3 separate regions of the Homo sapiens genome follow, and all the other regions are linked to region 3. The links are contacts of gene promoters, found by promoter capture Hi-C in blood cells and fetal thymus (Javierre and others, 2016). All regions are on one chromosome and are shown on one strand. The core of a region is centred on a gene start or on the middle of the fragment in contact, and the rest is flanking DNA. Distances in the headings are between cores, read along the strand shown.

What was found. Contacts are between HindIII fragments. The CHiCAGO score rates a contact against its expected background, and 5 or more counts as called.
Region 1: a contact is called between a fragment that was not itself captured here and the fragment with the promoter of BSN in region 3, in 3 of 17 cell types (endothelial precursors, erythroblasts and M2 macrophages). The highest score is 5.8, in endothelial precursors.
Region 2: a fragment that was not itself captured here is called in contact with the fragment with the promoter of BSN in region 3 in 1 of 17 cell types (endothelial precursors); the score reaches 5.9 in endothelial precursors.

What each region holds. Positions count from the first base shown.
Region 1 is chr3:49,635,644-49,640,233 of GRCh38, reverse strand. The region is part of intron 2 of BSN (bassoon presynaptic cytomatrix protein); the gene reads right to left. Among named protein-coding and RNA genes, the nearest start is that of APEH, 36 kb to the left of the region's middle. RefSeq lists enhancers at 1,043-1,542, 1,543-2,044. The HindIII fragment of the contact is 9,454 bases long and covers 1-4,590 here.
Region 2 is chr3:49,617,503-49,621,778 of GRCh38, reverse strand. All of the region lies in intron 1 of BSN (bassoon presynaptic cytomatrix protein), which reads right to left. Among named protein-coding and RNA genes, the nearest start is that of APEH, 55 kb to the left of the region's middle. The HindIII fragment of the contact is 3,385 bases long and covers 1-3,152 here.
Region 3 is chr3:49,552,437-49,556,895 of GRCh38, reverse strand. It overlaps BSN (bassoon presynaptic cytomatrix protein), which reads right to left and starts at 2,419. Exons shown (of 12, transcript NM_003458.4): 1 at 2,070-2,419. The coding sequence starts at 2,293. It overlaps BSN-DT (BSN divergent transcript), which reads left to right and starts at 2,530. Exons shown (of 3, transcript NR_038866.1): 1 at 2,530-2,855; 2 at 3,209-3,348. RefSeq lists silencers at 2,032-2,241, 2,312-2,611. The HindIII fragment of the contact is 4,717 bases long and covers 705-4,459 here.

The DNA of each region.
Region 1 (4,590 bases), core at 2,013-4,512, 82 kb before region 3:
CCCCGAGATTTGGTGCCTCAATGAAGAGTCTCCTCCTCATCAACCAGAGCTGAGGCTGGAGGCCAAGGTTGTTCTCTGTCTGTGGTTGCAGCCAGAGGTTCTAAATGCACCCTATTGGCCACCCAGTCATCACCAGGGGAAGGTGCCGTCTCATCTCTGGGGCAGAAGGCCCCTTTTATTTACCCACACGTGGCTCCAGCCCTGCTCTCTGCCTTGAGGCCCCAGGGCTACTGCTACAGGTTGACTTGCCAGTTGGGGGACCTGGGCTCAGGTGCCTTATCCCAGCAACCCAAGGGCAGCAGCCAAGAAGAGGGAGAACACTGCACTTTGGCAAGCACCCCCTTGTGCCAAGCACCACATAGGGCATGTTCACAGGCATTCTCTCATTTTGTCCTCACAGGAGAGAAAACCAAGATCTGAGATGTTTTAGCAATGTGTTCTCAATGGTTCCCTGGCTAGGAAGTGTTGCTGCTGGCAAGATCAGCCCTGACAGCTCTGCGTAGCTCCTAAACCACAGCCTGGACAGCCTGGAGCCTGGTGCCTTCTGTAGTCCTGCCTCTTCCAAAGGCCAAGTCAGGCTCTAGAAGTCAGCACTGCAAACCCTGGCAGAGCCCCCCAAAGGCCAATCCCAGTTCTAGAAACTCTAAGAACAGTGATGCCGAGGCAGTGAGGTGAGAAGCCATCCCACTAGCTGGGAACAATTAACCCACCCAAATGCTTTTTAAGAAGCAAGGCAGGCCGTGCACCGTGGCTCACGCCTGTAATCCCAGCACTTTGAGAGGCAGAGGCGGGCGGATCATGAGGTCAGGAGATCGAGACCATCCTGGCTAACATGGTGAAACCCCGTCTCTACTAAAAATAGAAAAAATTAGCCGGGTGTGGTGGCACATGCCTGTAGTCCCAGCTACTTGGGAGGCTGAGACAGGAGAATCGCTTGAACCTGGGAGGCAGAGGTTGTAGTGAGCCGAGATCATGCCACTGCACTCCAGCCTGGGCAACAGAGCGAGACTCTGTCTCAAAAAAAAAAAAAAAAAGAAAAAGAAAGAAAGAAGCAAGGCAGCTTTGTCTATGTTTGGGTAGAGAAAGCCAGAGAGAAAACAATTTCAGTCCCTGAACCCAGTCTAAAGACCTCTTTAGAAAGGTCATTCTTGGGAGGGAGGGGCTTATTCCCATCAAAGTGAGAGTTCCCCAGAGCAGGCCATTTCTACTCATCCAGAGAGGGACCCTGGAAGGGGATTACTCCTCAGAGGGGAAGCTCAGCCTCTGGCCCAGGGTGGCAGCCACAAATTCAGTTCTTCCCGTGGGTGCCCAGCCCACACCCAACGTCCCATCTCTCTCATTCACCTGGGCACTGCAGCATGCCCTGAGGTGAGACTTCTTCCTGGGAAAGGGAATTTAGGAGGTAAGGCTTCTTATCCTGCAACTTTGGGGTGACTGTCCCTGGGGTTCTGAATCAGGCTGAACAAAGGCACGTGCCAAACCGCCTGCACTCACCGCCAGAACTTTCCTTTCCCCAGCCCCTGTCATCCAGGCTGTGGCACAGGCATCTCACCTAAAATAGAACTTCTCCAAGAAAAGGCTGAAACGCCCCTCAGTGACTCATCGCCCAGATGGGTGCAGCTATTTCTATCCAGCCTCTTCCAGACGGTAAGGAACCTTGACCGCACCCTCCCCACAGCCCCTCCCAGGCTCAGGCCCAGCATGCAAGGCCTCCTAAGGAGGACACTGGCTGAGGGAGCTCTCTGAGGCCAGCAATACATCCCCCTCTCTGCCTCCCCGACAGATCCCCAGCAGTTTCCTGGGAGGAGCCCAACCTCAGTCTCTTCCTCCATACTGCAAGGCCCCTATCCCCACACTCAGGGGGATGGAGGCTGTCCACGGGGTAGGGAGAGAGATGATGGCTGTGCACCCCAACCCACCCGCCCACCCAGCCTGGGTATACATGAATAGTTCTGTGGCAGACTCCACTGGCCTGAGTGCCAGTACAGTTAGAGCCTTCCTTAGCTGCACACAGTGATGCCTCCTCATCAAGAGGTTGAACCCAGAAGGCTCCCTGTGGCTCCTAGGCCCTCTCCAAGCTGGCTCTCCATCAGAATCAGAGGGACTATCCTTTTACCAGTGTGACAAGAAGCCTCAGCTAGGGTTCTGCTGTCTAATACCTCCAAGATCCTGATCTGGCACATGGGCAGGAGATGTGCAGGCTACCAGCCACGAGCCTCGTGTCTCAGGAGCCTTCCTGGGGCTACCCTAAGGTGGACAGCTCTGTCAGACATTAGCTTTGAATGAGCTGACTCTTCTTGCTAGCAAGGAAGCCCATCTTGCCATCTCCAAGGACTGGTAGGGACCTCCATGGAAGCCCGTGCACCCCGACCCAGTGGGGGCCTAAGTGGCAGTAAGGATGGGAAGGCTCAGTGCAGTACAAGGTCAAGAGGTGGTTTAAGAGGTGGGGGAAGCAGAAGCTGCAGGAAGCCTTCCTACAGGCTTTGCAGGGAGCCACTGCCACCTGTCTGCTAGGGACTTGGAAACATAGGACCCTGTGGGCTCTGTAGCTCTGAGAGGACTTTCTCCCTGAGAAGAGTCTTTTTTAGCTGCTTCCTTACTCAAACTATTCAGTGTGCAGAAGGGCAGCTAAGGTGGCACTGGCCAAGGATCCAGAGGCTTGGGGCCCAAGCTGGAGGCTGTATGAACTCTAAGTTGAATGAGCAGCTGTGATCTGTCTGCAATGGTCACTCCCTGGTAATTCCTCCACTGGGCTCTGGAGCAAGGAGGGCAGTTCTGGGAAGAGCTTCTACATCTTCCCTGCAGGAACACTGGCTGCACAGAGTGTCTCAGCCCTCAAGGGTGGGACTCAGCCTTGCTTGCCATATCTGGCCCCAAAGGATGCTCACAGGGTGGAGTCTACCTCACGGTCACCTCCATGGCTGTCAGGAAGCTCTGAGAGCCCCCCGAAGTCACATGTTCTCTTCCCACTCGCCTCCTCTCACCCCCCCAGCAGCAAGGAAAAGGAAGGTTGCAGACGTCACTCAGCCTTCTTCCTGTGGAGAGCCCCAGCCCTACCAGGGAGAGCAGGCATTCAGTGTTTCAGATCACTCAGCACTGACATCACGCCTGATGCCGCATTTATGCTTTCCATTTTGGTACAAGTTGAAACATCACAGAAACAGCTCATAAAGGAGCCCTCCCTGCAGGTGCCAAATCTAGAGGTTCCTGGGAGGGCCCCACTGGCCAGTGTGACTATATGCCTTTCTGGGCTATGAGTCACTGGCCAGGTCTCATCAGGAGGAACATACCTTCCCATGCCCCCTGGACAACAAGGACAGGCCGATGTGCAGAAGGGCAGCTAAGGTGGCAGCTGAGAGGGAGGGAGTCAGGCCTAGCCTGGATACTCACCCTGGTACAGCAATAGACATGTTGCCTGCCCCATCTAGCACCTTACTGTCAGCTAGCTGACCTCAGGCTTAGGAAGCAGGTACCACAGGGTCCCAGTGGGCAGGGTCACACTGATCCAGAGCTGGACCAGCCAGGGGAGGCCTGTGCCAATCTATCAGAGCCCTGAGGAAGGTCTTGGGAACCTGCCCAACATCTGAGGTCAGGATCTGGGGAGTGGAGGCTGAACCTAATCGCACCTGGGGCTAGAAGACCTCACTGGCTTGGATCTCCACGAAAGGGAGAGGATCCGTCCCCTTGCTGATCCCTGGACACATCTGTCTCTCTGCCCTCAATATCTCTTAACTCCTCCCACACTGCTCTGGACAGCCCCCCTCCCGACCCAGGATGATCTGGTGTACCCTGTAACACACCCCATCCATGACTGGCCAACTCCCCTGCACCCTCCCCATACACACTCCTCTTAGTCACCAGTAACCCTCTCCAGGAGAGGCTGGACCCTTGGACTAGCCTCAACTTCTCCTTAAAATCCCCAGGACCCTTTGGTTCATGCCCAGCTTCCCCTCCTGGCTTCTGCTGCCCTCCCTCCAGGCCCCTTTATCCTGGCCTGCAAGTCCTTGGCCCTCGCCTCTTAAACTCCTGCTAAATGACTTCCATGGTCACTCCAGATGACCTGCAACCCACATGGGGCTGAGCTGCAGACCACTTCTCAAAGCTCACCGACTGGAATAATTAATTGCTGTACATTGCATTATATGTAAATTTTAGCTAAAAAAGAGAAACCTTAAATAAATACTGAACTCTAGTTAATGATACGCTTGAAGTGCTTAGTGGGAAGTATACTGATATCAGCGATGTACTTTTTTTTTTTTTTTGGAGGGGGACAGGGTCTGGTTCTGAAGTGCAGTGCCATGATCATGGCTCTCTGCAACCTCCACCTCCCAGACTCAAGTGATCCTCCCACCTCAGCCTCCCGAGTAGATGGGACTACAGGCATGGCGCCACCACACCCAGCTAATTTTTGTATTTTTTTTGGTAGAGACAGGGTTTTGCCATGTTACTCAGGCTGCTCCTGAATCCCTGGGCTCAAGCAATCCTCCCACCTTCGCCTCTCAAAGTGCTGGTATTACAGGTGTGAGCCACCATGCCTGGCCCACTGCAATGTACTTTGACATTCAACAAAAAGATGGATGGATAGATGGA
Region 2 (4,276 bases), core at 211-2,710, 66 kb before region 3:
GCTGCTGTGCTCCAGCCTGAGTGACAGAGCAAGACTCTGTCTCTAAAATAAATAATAAAAGAACTGCCTCCACTCACTACCTCCCACTCCTCTCCTCTCTCCCTCTCAACCTACCCCTCCAACCTGGCTTTTGCCCATCACTCCACAGACATTACTCAGGTCACAGTCAGTAGGGACCTCCACATCATCAAATCCGACAGTCACATCTCAGTTCCTCATCTCATTTGACCATCAGCAGCACTTGATCCTGGGTGATCACTCCCTTCTTCCTGAAATAAGTTCACTATTTGCCTTCGGGAATACCACCTTCTCCTGAATTTCCTCCTCCTGCCTGGCCACACCTTTCTAATCTCTTCTGCAGATTCTTCCTCATCTGCCAACCCCAGAACACCACTCCTTACACTGGAGAGACCCAGGGCTCAGTCTTTACACAAACGTGCTTCTGTGAGTACTCACAATCCCTAAGTCTCAAGACTTACCCAGTCTCAGGGCTTTAAATCCACTTTCCACTGATACCCACCAAATGTCTATCTCTGGCCCAGAACTCTGCTCTGAACTCTTCACCTGTCTAACTGCCAACTCCACATCTTCACAGAGATGCCCTGTAGGCATCTCCACCTTGATACACCCAAGCTGAGCCCCTGATCTTCCCCCTAAATGTGGGCCTCCTAGTCTCCCCCTTGGTGCCGTCTCTGCCTCCCTTCCTGTCTCATCCTAAGTCAATCCAGCAGTATATCTTGTTGGTTTCTGAAGCTGGCCACTACTACCTACTCCCTCCTCCTCACCCCACCTGGTTTGAGCCATTCTCAGTTGCCAGGATAAGTCTTTTTGTGTGTGTGTGTGTGAGTCTCCTTCTGTTGCCCAGGCTGGAGCGCAGTGATGCAATCTCGGCTCACTGCAATGTAGCTGGGACTACAGGCGCACACCAGCATGCTTCGCTAATTTTTTGTATTTTTAGTAGAGTCGGAGTTTCGCCATGTTGGCCAGGCTTTGAACTCCTGACCTCAAGTGATCCGCCCACCTCAGCCTCCCAAAATGCTGGGATTACAGGCATGAGCCACCAAGCCCAGCCCCAGAATAAGGCTTTAAATACACAAGTCAGGCCACTTCTCTGCTTTGCTTAAGCCTTGCACTGGCTTCCTTTCCCTCCCAAAGGAAAAGCCAAAAGTCTTACAATGGCCCATAAGGCCCCATGAGATTTTGCCCCTTTCCCTCTGGCCTCATCTCTGATTATCCTCTCCCTGATTCCACTTCCCTTATGCCAGGCCCACTCCTGACATGTGCATTTGGCCATTGGATTTGCTGTTCTTTGTTTTTTTTTTCTTTTTTTTTTCTTTAGTTTTGTTTTGTTTTTGAGACGGAGTCTCACTCTGTCGCCCAGGCTGGAGTACAGTGCTGCGATCTCAGCTCACGGCAACCTCCGCCTCCCGGGTTCAAGCAATTCTTCTGTCTCAGCCTCCCAAGTAGCTGGGACTACAGGCATGTGCCACCATGCCCAGCTGATTTTTGTATTTTTAGTAGACACGAGGTTTCACCATATTGGCCAGGTTGGTCTTGAACTCCTGACCTTGTGATCCGCCCGCCTCGGATTTGCTGTTCTTTCTGCAGACACTTGCTCCCTCTCAAGTTTTTGCTCTGGTGGCATCCTTTCAGGGACACTTACCCTGAATCTATTTAAAACTGTGCTTGTCTCCCCTGCCTCTTTGTTCTCTGTGGCACTGAGCACCTTCTGACCCATCATATAACAAATTTATTGCTTTTGTATATCCTTTGGGATCCCTGCATTAAACTGCCAGTTCTGTGTGGGCACAGTCTCCGTGTGCTTTCCTCACAGCTGTGTCCCAGGGCCTACCACAGTGCCTGGCACAAACTGGATGCTCAATATTTATTTCCTGAATGGGGTGACTGTAAGCACTAAATGACTCAGAGCAGTAAAATGTGGCCCCAAAGTTTTAAAGCTGAGGAAACACGGCAAGTGCCTGGCATGACACTCGGCCCTTCTCTGGGTCTGACTTCATGCAGGAGAGAACTTCAGGAACAATACCTAAAGTTCCTCCCTATAGCAGTTGGCTACACCCCCAGCCGTACCATAGAAGGCTCTGCTGACAATAATTGTGGTAATGCTGACCGAGCCCTCACCATGAGCCACCTGTCACATAGTAACTGCTTTAAGCCTCACAGCAAATTCACTGGATAGGATCTATTTTGCCCATTTTACAGATGAGAAAACTGCCACACATAAAAGTTAAGTAACATACAAAGCCATCATGACTTGCAAATGGTGGAGCTGGGATTCCAATATCTAGGCCACCAGTCCATGTCCTTAACCACATCCCACACTGCCTTTCTAGGGTAGCTGTAGAGGGGGTAGAAAGCATTGCAGTTTGGGTTCTTTGGATTATTTTTTCTGAAGAGCTGCTTACGTGGAAGCTCCCTGGGAAGAGGTTTCACCATTTTGCTCCCCACTATATCCTTAGGACCCAGCGCCACGCTTGGCATTGAATGGACACTCAGTAAGCACATGCACAACAACCAGAACAATGTGTGAACAGTAGAATGAGCTCACAGAGTGGGGCTGGGCTAGGGCCATGACACCATTCACCTGGGACTTAACTAGCAACGCTGGGAGACTCAGAGAGAAAATGACTCCAACAATAGATATTTATTCATTCATTCATTCAGGAATTCACATTTACTGACCCCTGGATTAGTTCCAGGCCCTATAATAGGTATTGATGGTATAAAGGAATGATATCTCTTCAATGGAAGGTGGGTCCACAGGTGTTCATATTTTATTCTTCACATCTTATACATGTTGTATAGGTATTCTTATATTCTTTATAAAGTCATTTAATATTTAATTAAAATATTTTTTTAAAAAATGATTCATATAGGAGTCCAGTCCTCCAAGAGCCTCTGGTCTAGAGTAGAGACAGATGTGCAAACAAATCCCTGCAAGACACACTGCTGCATGGTCCAGTGATGGACAGAGGCAGAAGTCTTTGAGGATGAGAAGACATTTAAACTGGGTCTTAAAAGATGAGCTGTTCATGCCAAGGTGACAGGGCATGCTAGGCAGAGGCAACAGCATGCACGAAGACCCAGAGGCACAGCAGAGCATGCTCAGTCTGAGTAGCTACGCAGGATAAGCTTGGAAGACGTAAGTCATTGGTGCTCCCAGCACCTAGAACAGCTCCCAGCAATCGTGTGATAGTGTGTGTTGAACTACCTGAGCTAATTGGGAAGCTAAAAGCTAAAATGAGCACAGCCTGTAAGGTTTTCACATAGGGGAATGTTTAGGGTCTCTTCAAGGAGAAGAAGATGATGAGGTAGGAAACCAGTGAGAATAAGGCACTGGCCCAGGAGATAGTCTGTGTGGCAAGAGGAAGGGAAGGTACAGCAGCAGGTATTCTGGCTTTGGCTCCAGGGAGGAGTGTTCCTTTTAATTGAGATGGGGAATCCAGGGAGAGAAGTCAATTAGTGGGTAAGAAATGGGAAGCGAAATCACAAAATCACAAGTTTGGGTTTGGTTTGGTTGTGTTGAGGTGGGGGTAGGGGGTAAGAGACATTAAGAGATGGGTCACAGCTTCAGTTCAATTCAGATAAGTGTAGATATTTTTATCTGGGAGAGTTACAGGTCTTGTTCACAGACAATTCTCAGGCTAGAAATCACCCAGAAAGCTTTGTGGGGAGGACCAAAGTTCATAGGAGTAGAGGAGATGTCAGAACCAGAGAAGTCAGGGAAAGGAGAAAAAAGAGAATGACCCCACAGGGTTATAGAAGTTCCCATGAGGAGGAGCACTCAACAATGCCCCATGCCATGATGAGTCTACGTATGTGAAAGCCGAGAAGTCACAGGAAGAAAGGCTACACCTATGAGTGCCACACACCATAAATGCCCAAGCCCTGTCCCAAACCAGTCCAGCTTGGGAGGGGCCAGTTCCTTCTCCAGCTGAACACAAGGGCCCACCGTGGCAGGAGCTCCAGGGGTCATAACTGTCTGTACCACACACCTGAACACACATTCCATGAGAGCCACAGTGACTACACCCGTCCAAGGCCTCCTCAGGAGGGAAGAGGTAAGCCCTCCAGGAGGCTCTTCTTAAGAGACACAAACAAAGGTCTCCGCCAAAATATGGCCGCTGGGCAGGAGAAAGAAGGGAATGAGGAAAAAGAGAGGGAGGTGTCCACAGGCAGGACCCAGCCCACCCCAAGGAAGACTTGGTCTTGTGGATGTGGCCTCATCAGCAGAGAGGCCCCTTGAGGCCACTGCTCC
Region 3 (4,459 bases), core at 1,170-3,669:
ATTCAAAATCTTACTGAAAGCAAATATGTCTTTGTGCTAATGCTCTTTCCTGAATGCCCAGAAGCACATTCACAGGGCTTTTTCCCCATCAATGGGCCAATCTGTTCAGCAGCATCTTAGAACATGCTAAATTTGGCATCAGGTATCTGAGATGCTCTAGTGAGAGGAAGTAGAAGCCATTGCAATACTAAAGGAGAGATAAGCCATGGAGCTGCTGCTCAGCTGAGGTGCTATGATAAAATGAATATCAGCTGGAGGAGTAAATCCCACCTCCTAATGGTCTCTGGTTCTGAGCTTTGGGGACAAATAGCCAGCTCACCTCCTGAGTCTGATAGTCACAGGACCTCAGCACCACAGGCTCAGGTATGAGCCTTGCCCACAGCCAGGTAAGAGATTGTGTGACTACTAAATCCATCAGGAGTCCGTGGTTCGCCTCACCCACAGCAGTTCATGGGTCTGCCTGCAGCAGAATGTACAGATGAAGTACAAATGAAACACTAAAAAGGCATATGAGCAATAGACATCAGCCTCCTTCCGGTCCCTCTGAGCTGCCCAGGTCTTTCCAGAATTTCATATGATTGGCTCTGCAACATCTGATAAACTACAAGCAGAGCAGCCTGTTTGGTTATCAGAAGAGAAATGACAAATTCCCCATACAGGGAACTCTCAATAACAAGGTGTTTTTCCATTCAGCTACAGAAGCTTTCCCTTGGAAGGAGAACACTAAAGCCTGGGTGAGCCTCCCTCAAGCTAAAACCCAAACAGCAACTCAACATGCAGCAAAATGGACAGTGTTTGCAGTGCTAAGAGCTGTGTGCTATCCAACTGCATTACTATTATAGCTAGTATAAAATGGACAAATCCCACCTCTAAAAAGGATGCTCACAGGCTGACCTGTCTGCCGCAGGTTTCAAGCTACTAACAGCCTTTCATTACTGTTAGTTGTCTAAGAAATGACTTCTGAGGAAATAAACACACAAGAGGCACAGTCGGGCAGCCAAAGAATAAAAAATTATGCGTCCTCAGTTTATGTGCTTCCACACAGAAAAGCCAGGGCAACATATATCAGCAGACCCACATGGAGCTGGAAGCACCTCCCTCCCACCCCCTGGGGGTTTTGCTACTCCCCAAGCCTATTTGGTGCAAAGATAATGCCTTCCATTTTATCGTGTCATCTCTTAGTAGTTTTCCTGAGTTTTCAGTCTACTGACTTATTATATATTGGCATTCCCTTACAGCCTTCATTGCCACTTGACTGTTTTTGCAGGACCTGGGTTGGCATACATTTAAAACAAACTGGTTTCACAGTATTTAATCAGATATGTTCTGTTTAAAGCATTCTGTGTGGGTTTCAGCTTTTCCACTGGTTTGATCTAAATCATAAGGTAACGAGAACATATCTGGTGCTGGATGACTCAATAGCATTTTTGCTTCACCCCAAAATGTTTCCCTAAACCTTGGTGAAAGCACATGATCCTATTAGTATTGTTGGGCCTAAATAAGCACCTCTTGGTGTCCAGTGGGCAATTTTCCTTTCCCCCAAAGGTGATTACAGCCACTAAATGCCCAAGGAAAGCCCAAGACCAAGTTCATGGTTCAACTATTTTCATCTCTCTGTTCCTCGCAGTGACACTTATCTTCCCTGACAGCCACTCCCATTGTGCTGTTTTCTCGGCCCAGCACAATGGACACATGCAGACACCAGCAGACAGGGAGGACGTTTTCCATCCCATTGCTCTCCTGTGCGGAGGGACCAGGTTAAGGTTACATAAGCCCCTCCTGAGCAGTCAGGCCCGAGCGTTGGGGAGAAGCGAATTTGGGGTTCGTGACGGAGTCACGGTCTGCAGGCCCCGACTGACCCTGCGCTCGTCATCCTGCCACGCCAAGGCGGGGCAGCTGGAAAGGAAGGGCCGCTTCCCGCGACCACCCAGTTCACGCCAATCCGGCAGGGTTCAGAGTGCGGCCGGACGTCGAACCTCGCTGTCCACACTAGATCGCGGGATCCTGGGCCCGGGTCCCGGCCTCAGGCTGCAGCTCACCGCCCCCCGGGCGCCGAGACACGCGCTTACCTGCCCGGGCCAGGGCCGGGACCGGGGCCGGGGCCGGGGCCAGGGACCGGTGGTACCGCGGTCGACCGCGCTGCTCCCGCCGCGGGGAGCTGTCCGCCACCGGCCGGTGCTGAAGGCGGCTTTCCTGCGCCGGGGCCGGGGCCGGGGCCCGGGCCGGGGCCGGCGCCGCCGGGCGGCAGCGGCCCGTCGCCAGCGCCGCCCTCCAGGCTGACCTCGTTGCCCATGGCGGGCAGGCGGGCGGGCGGGGTCGGGGTCGCGCTGCGCCCGGGCCGGCGGCTCCCGGGCGGTGCTCACACTCTCGGCGCCGCCGCTGCCGCCGCCATCTCCCAGCTCGGCTCGCGCCGCCGCCTGCCGCTGCGCATGCGCGTCTCGCGCCCCCTTCCCTGCACACGCCCCCCTTCCCCTGTGCGCGCTCCCGCCAGCCTCGGGGTCGCTGGGAAACAGCCGCCGGCGCCCGCGCATGCGCTGTCCAGGGCCGACGCGGTTGTATCATGCTGAGAAGGAGCCGGGCGGGGGCCGGCGGGGCTGCGAGGGCCCTGTGAGGAGGGGCACCTGCCACTAGAAGCGGCCTCTGGGACGTCGCGCTGAGCCCTGCTTTGGAGTCAGAGGGGCTTTCCGCCTCGGTGAACTCGAGAGTAGCAACTCTCCTCCGGGTAACCGGAGTGCCACAGCGGGCAGGCGTCATAAGGACAGGCCTCGGAGAGGAGAGGGGCTACCCGAGAATGGCCTCAAAAGTATGCATAGGAGTTGGGAAGGCAGAGGAACAAGTGTATTCAGAGACGCAAGGTCGTAGAGGGAAGGAGAGGGAGGGTGCTGGGTGGTCGGGCCGGATTGTGAGGGTCTTTAAGGCCAGCTGGGGAGTGGAGCCTTTATCCAGATGGCGATGGGAACCATCTGGGATTCACACTGAGGAACTGGGAGTCTCAGGAAGCGCCCCGGGCACAGATGGAAGGTGTGACAGGGCTGTGTGAAGCCAGCTGGGAGGCCACCTCAGTCAGCCCTGGGAGAGTGACCTTGGGGATGGAAAAGAGGACTTGATGGTTCTCAGGCCTGGAGCTGTCTCGATGCGGGGCCGCAGGTTGCCTCTGCATTACCCTGAGAGCTTTCCAAATTACTTCCCCGCTCCCTCACATTTACAGCCGGTTTCTGCCCGCTACTCAGGATTGTCTGCCGTGGTGGCTTCTCACACAAGCCTGTACTTTCCTGTGGGAGAATATTTCCTAGGAGCCTATATTCCAGTTCATCTCTGACGTCATAAATCATGACTGTGTAGAAAGGCGTGAGTAACTTGAACCCATTTTACAAACCCATTCAATTCTCCTAATGTTGCGAAATATATCACATAGGGTGTTAGCAGTTCTAACTGAACCTAGAATAATCCAGGGATCCCAGTGAATGCTGATAGCCAGCCTGCTGGACAGACCGGTGGCTGTGTCAGTTCTTGTGAGGAGGGGCCAGGACCCTCCCTGGGCCTTCCCCTGTGCACTCCGAGCTGCTCCTCCCGACCTCTGGGATGGAGCAAGTAAGAGAAAGAGGAAATGCAGAGCCCCCACTTCCTGATATTTTCTCCTGACTTCATACCTCCCGTTTTCACGCTAAACTGCCTGGCCCCTCTGGGATGACCTAGGATGAAGAGAGCCTCTCTTCCTGCAGATGATGGTCCTTGCTGTGTTTCCTCCTGTGCTGCAGGATGTTTGATACAGCTTCGTGAGTGGTGACTACATGTGCACATTTAGGCTCCAAAAGAGTCTGCACCTCAGCCCCGATAGGACCCTTGGCAACTGACTTAGGCTCACTGAGCCTCCATTTCCTATTCTGCAAAGTTAGAATCTTAGTAGCTCCTCGAATATGGGGGATTGTAAGGGTAGAGTGGCTGATGTAGATATTTTATTTTTTATTCATTTTATTTTTTTTATTTTTATTTTTTGGAGACAGACTCTCGCTCTGTCACCCAGGCTGGAGTACAGTGGTGTGATCTCGGCTCACTGCAACCTCCACCTCCCGGATTCAAATGATTCTCCTGCCTCAGCCTCCCTAGTAGCTGGGATTACAGGTGCCCACCACCACACCTGGCTAGTTTTTGTATTTTTAGTAGAGATGGGATTTCACCATGTTGGCCAGGTTGGTCTTGAACTCCTGACCTCTGGTGATCCTCCCACCTCGGCCTCCCAAAGTGCTGGGATTACAGGCATGAGTCAATGCACCCAGCCTGATGTAGGTAAAACACCAGGACAAGTGCCTGGTATACTTATGACAACTCTGTTATTAGTTGTCTCCCTGGTGATGGTCTGGGATGTGGCGGTCTTGTGCCATATATTTCCTCCTGGGGAAGAATATGCTCACAAACACTATGGGCAGGCCAGTGGCCTGACCTTGTCCCAACCCAGGCT